Linked DNA regions of Homo sapiens: region 2 is linked to region 1. The links are contacts of gene promoters, found by promoter capture Hi-C in blood cells and fetal thymus (Javierre and others, 2016). All regions are on one chromosome and are shown on one strand. Each heading gives the region's core, a stretch centred on a gene start or on the middle of the fragment in contact. The rest is flanking DNA. Distances are from core to core; before and after follow the strand shown.

Region 1 (2,862 bases), core at 101-2,600:
TTGGTAGTCCCAGGTAAACTTACGGTACGGAAATTTGTTTCTTGAGGATACAAAAAAGAAAGGTGTCAGGGGGAAAGTAAAAATTCAACTCCTAAAACATCGCGTGTAGAGTCAGGCAGTCACTTCATAAAGAGTTCAGTCGATGAAGTTTCACTCTTGAAACTTTACTGTATGTATGCAAGCCCTAACTATTAATACAGGTGACAGCATCCACCTTATCTTCCATTCTCCCTAAGCCCTGAGGGTGGGGATGGGGGGGGGGGCACTCCAATCACCTGAGCCTAAGAACATAGCCTAAGAACATGTGTCTGGCATGGTCTGGTTATTTATAGCCTAAAAAAAAAAAAAGCCAGCTTCTTGTCCGATTCAGGCTTTCCCTGCCCAAACCCACTAGCTTAATGCGATATTGACATTACCAGGAAATGCATACGTCCCAAATGCATCTGCTTATAGATGTTTTTACCTCCTGAAATAATACCGGGTCACAAATACTGTTGTGTTTTTTGCAGAGAGCTTCTACTGCTCATTTAATTCAGGGGCGTTGGATTTGTGCTGAGCGTAATTTGACTCCAAGCATGCAAACTGATCAACTTCTTCCCGTGTGTTTGGGGAGTACAAGTGACTACTGCGACTCCTCAAATGTTTTTCTTTTCCTTTTCACGTGGAGGAAAGCGAATTCTCCGAAGACTGTTCGGCGTTCTACGCAGGGGTTGGAAGGGGGGTTCCTGAGTCACCTCTGGCTGCGCGGGGGGCCTGTGTGTACCCTCAGGGACACCAGGCTGGAATCGTCCACCTTACTTTCAAATGATAAAAGTGCGGAGGGTCTTTCTGCCCCTAAGTCGCGTACAGGATTGCCTGTTTACGGAGTACACTTTCACACACTTCTTTCCCGGTGGTGCAGTCTCGTGGCGGCAGAGCCTTTAGGAAGGCTCTGGGGGGAGACAAGATCAGTGGCGACCACGCCTCCCATGTTACAGCGCTCGCTTCCTACTGGGGGTTGGCGGGGACACCAAGGCTCTCCAGCCCGGGAACACGGAGTTCGGCTCCGTTGTACCCAACTGGAAAGCTGTGGAAACACAAAACTCGGGCGGCGACAGCACCAGCCGATTTTCCGCTCTCTTGGCTCTTTCTTCCGCTTGCACCGCCCCCACCCCGGCTCCTCCGCTCAGCACACAGGAACCCACATCCCCCACCACTCCCGCGTTTCTCTCCTGCCACCAGCTGGGGCCTGCCTTTTATAGGCGCCGCAGCCAATGAGCACGCTTCTTTCCTTCTGCCCGCCCGCCTGGCCAATCGCCGCGCCCCTTGTGTAATCTCCGGCTAGTCGGCTGCTTTCGGCTATTTTCGCTGTTGCTGGCTTTTTCAGGAGCTGCTCGCTCGCAGCCAGAGACGCTGCTTTTTTTTTCCGGGTTCGGAGCCGTTCCGGATGCTTTAGGCTGCCGGATGTCTGATCTCCGAATAACTGAGGCGTTTCTGTACATGGATTATCTGGTAGGTGCAGGGCAGGGGTGGCATGTCGCCTCTCGGATCTCGGCGTGCCCGATGGCCCCCTGCCTTGAGGAGCAGCCTTTTTGCTTTCTTTCTTTGGGATAGGATGCCTCTGGGGTTCTTTCTCCCGCAGCCGGCTGGTAAGCCTTTCCCTGGACTCGGAGGGGCAGCCTCCAGGGCGGGTGGGTGGTGGAGCTGACAGGTAAAGGTGCGGCCTGGGCCAGCACGGCTGCAGGGCGAGGGTCGCGCTGGGGCTGCTTGAGAGATGGGGCGGCCGCGGCGGCGCGTCCCCTGCCCGCGATCGGCTTCCTGGCTTCCCTCTGCGCTCTCCGCAGAGGACTTTCTTTCCGGGGGAGCAGGAGTTTTCCTCTCTCCCTGGAGCAGAACTCCAGGTGCTATTAAAGAGCCATAACCAGAATGGCTCACTAAGTGCCCAGCAGCCCTGGTCATTTGATTGTTATTAAATCTCTAAAGCTATGACCTCGGTCGTGGCGGGGTTTTAAAAGCACATTACCATAAAGCAGACGGGTCTAAACTACCTCGCAGGCTGGCACGAACAGGACTGAGTAGGGACAGGTATAGCCCCACCATTCCGGTCTTGGGTGCGTGCCGCGGTTCCACTGTGCACGGATTGGAACCCGGCTGTTTAGGCCAGGCTTGTGCTGAGAAGTTTAGGTGGGAAAAGTGTCAGCACAGTGCTGGGACCGAACATCATTTTAAAAATGGACTTCTATGTGTCTTTGTGGAATTATGCGAGCACCATGTTTTGTTCCAGAAATTATATTTCCCCAGAGTTGCTTGTTTGCGTTTAAGGGGATCCTCATTTACAGAGACTTGTGTTCGATCCTATACGATTATTGTGTTTACCATGTTGGGCAGAACCGCTATTGCCATGCAGAGTTGAAGTAGACGGTTAGAAACATTGACCCTCCTGTCATCTTGTTGGACACATGCACTCGGTTTTCGACTGCAGATTGGCCTGGCAGAGATTTGCCAGTGCCTTCTAGGAATTACACTTAAGGCTGTACTGAGAAAGTCTGTGCATGCTTTGATGGCCAAGAAACGCCGGACCGGCTTTGTGCTGTTATCTGTGTATTTGGGCTTATTTTAGTGTACATAAAGAAAATGTTTCTCCTAATGCTTCAGAGCTTGATGGTCTTGTGGGAAAGGATGGTGACTGCAGTTAATGCATAGCCTTGTGAATGGAGCTGGATCTAAAATTCTGAATTCAAGTTCTGTTTTGTTGTTCATTTGTTGATGGCAGTAACTTCCTTTATCTTTGTGATAAAGGGATATTATTCACCCAGTACTGTAGCTGGTTACGGGGATTATCTGATTATGAACATTCTTCACAATACAAGGTGCCCTGTAAGT
Region 2 (2,862 bases), core at 182-2,681, 1.2 Mb after region 1:
TTTTCATCTGTCTAGCAGATTCTTTAACACGTAGATTCAGAGATGATGGTGATTTTTTTTTCTCTTCATCTTGTTAAAGCTTGGTTCCAGTGTCAGAAGCAAGCATAATCATTGCTGTGTCCTCAGCCCACAGAGCTGCATCTCTTGAAGCTGTGAGCTATGCCATTGATACTTTAAAAGCCAAGGTGCCCATATGGAAAAAGGTAAGTTAAGAAAATAACACATTTTAGCATGTGGACCTGATTTTTCTCAGGAATTTTTAGATAAATCCCCCCATATTTATGGACTTTTTACTGACTGTAGTATCTTGTTTTCTTTATCTGTGAAATATCTTCTTTCCAAGATTTGTTAAGCATGAAAAATATGTGCCCCAAAGAATGCATGGCACACAGTAAGCCTCAATGAGTGATAACAGTGAGAATTCCTAGTCTGGACTGTTGGAGGGGTTCATACATGAAGTTATTTTCCTTGGATTATAATTCCCTTGAATTAGAGGGTCTTTCTGTTGGAGAGTGAGAATAATGCATTAGCTATTTAGGTAATGGCTAAAATAGAAATTCTTTAAAGTGAAAGAGGCTTTTCCTAGAGGTCCTTTTTAGGGAAGAAAAAAAAATGGTGAGATATTGCTCCCTCTGAGAAAATGCAGTGAGTGGATTTAAAAACAGAAATAGGAACTTCTGGCATGTTTTCTGTCAATAAGGGCAAGTAATTCTCTGGTTAAATAGAGCATTCTGATGGGATGAAAAGGCCCAACTCCCTAGTTTCTCCCCTGGTGTAGTAACATTAACAGTGGGATTGTTCTGTGGTTGCACATTCAATGTCTAGAATTGTCTAGAATTGCCTACAGCGTTGTGGTTGACAGAAAGCTGAGGAGTTAATGAACAGCTCAGTAGATGAAAAGACCAGAGCAGAGAGCCAGGGCTTTTAAAGGGCACTTCTCCCCTCCTTCCCAGGGGACCTGCCTCAGTCAGTGGTAGAAATAAGCAAGTTGGACTCATAACCAGGGCCTGGGAAATTTGATGACCATGTTTTCAGAATAAAATTGAAGCCCATTGTTAGAATACGTAGGGATTAGAGGATAGAATATGTGTGAAAGGAAACTTAGTGAAGCTCAGATATATTGTTCCCTTGCTGTGAACAAGGCTGACACAACAGGAGGCAGGCCCCCAGAGAGCGAGAGGTAGGAAGAGCATTCTAAGATCAGCTGCAAGCCTGGAAGGCAGGGGTAGCTTTCTTCACCAGGGAGGAAAGGGTGCACAGTCAGTGGACAGAAAGTAGATGGGAGCAACCCCAGAAATACAGGTAATGAGCAGGAGTTGGGGCATATTCTTGTTTTCATGCTTTGAGGACTAGTTGGGCTTCGTATTTTGCTTTTGTTTGTCCATAGAGAGTCCGAGGAAGTGCAGGAGTTCAGAGGACAGTTGAATTTGAATTCCTCTCCCTACAGAAATGGAATGTGACTAGAGAGTGAGAAGAGAAAGTGATATGTTCTCCTTACCCCTCCTTTCCACAAACTATGTAACTTCTAGTCTGGTTCTAGTCTCGGCCTGTGCTTTGAGATCATCTGTGATATAGGGAAGGGTGGCAGGTAGGTAGAGTGCATATGTCAAAGAACAGCTCATACCAGAGGGCAGCTCAAACTTGTTTAGGAACTTCTGAGAGGTGACCACTTAATTCAACAGCTAATGAAGATATCTGCCTTTGGAAAAGCATATTTAGAAATGTTGAAGTAGTAGGTATGTTTGGAAAGAAAAAAAAATGTTTAAAACTAAAGACTTTCTGTCTTCCCCTATGTAACCTTGCCCATGATGTCTCTCGTCATGATTGTTAAAAGAGGAGCCATTGAAATAGATGTGATATTCATTTGTCTGATTTATTCAAATATATTTTATATTCGTATAGTAGAATGGTCTATTTTTAATACCTGTTATGATTTTGTTTTTTAGGAAATATACGAAGAGTCATCAACTTGGAAAGGAAACAAAGAGTGCTTTTGGGCATCCAACAGTTAATCACTTATGTTTTTAGAGCATGCAATCTTAACTTTGTTAAACTATTATTATTGATCACATTTTGATTTTTTTCTCTCCACATCAGGATAGTTTACTGAAGCACAATCTCTTATACTAGTGGGACAAAAGGGAGAAAAAGGAAGCAAGATAAATGGGTATGTAGGATGAAGGGTTATTTAAAATGGAACTAAAGATAGAAGGAGGACTGTAGGAAGAAATGGAATAATTTAAATGTGAGGAAAGATATCTGTGGTAGACATGTCCTTCCATGACTAATTTCTAATTGTAACTCAACACACATTGAGGTATGGGCCCTCCTCAGTGACTTTAACTAGCTCAGAAACGTACTCCCCCACCAACCCCACCTCACCGCCCCCCATCCCGGTTCTGGGAGAGCATTGTTATTAAGGATGCATGACAGGAATGTTGGCAGAACTGGAAAGTATTAAAAAAGCATTATCAGACAGTCTTGATATTATACATTTTCAGAAATATATTAAAAATAATAAACTAAAACCCATGATTTCAAAAGTTTAAAAAGAGTATTTTCTTTTTTTTTAAATTGCCTAAAATAGTTCTCATTATGGAGATTTCTGGGATTTCAGAATCTATAATCTTACCAGAAAACTTTTTGTTGTTTTTTATTAGTTGTTAATTTTGTATCAATATACAAATCAGCACAAAATTGTCATAAAGCTAACTAGCAACAAGGTGGTTTGTGTTGAAATGTTTAGGTAAACAATGCCCCAATTTTTAACTGGTTAAGCTTTATAGTATTTTGATAGACTTGTACATATAAGTCCCATATAGTTCTTAAATTTTTTTTTCCAGCTTTATTTAGGTATACTTG

What was found. The method cuts DNA at HindIII sites, captures the fragments that hold promoters and counts their contacts. A CHiCAGO score of 5 or more calls a contact.
Region 2: a fragment that was not itself captured here is called in contact with the fragment with the promoter of ARL15 in region 1 in 1 of 17 cell types (total CD4 T cells); the score reaches 6.1 in total CD4 T cells.

The regions. Positions count from the first base shown.
Region 1 is chr5:54,309,061-54,311,922 of GRCh38, reverse strand. It overlaps ARL15 (ARF like GTPase 15), which reads left to right and starts at 1,350. Exons shown (of 5, transcript NM_019087.3): 1 at 1,350-1,491. The coding sequence starts at 1,444. The HindIII fragment of the contact is 4,353 bases long and covers 1-2,862 here.
Region 2 is chr5:53,097,752-53,100,613 of GRCh38, reverse strand. It overlaps MOCS2 (molybdenum cofactor synthesis 2), which reads left to right. Exons shown (of 7, transcript NM_004531.5): 6 at 80-203; 7 at 1,947-2,862. The coding sequence ends at 2,012. Among named protein-coding and RNA genes, the nearest start is that of MOCS2, 11 kb to the left of the region's middle. The HindIII fragment of the contact is 2,699 bases long and covers 82-2,780 here.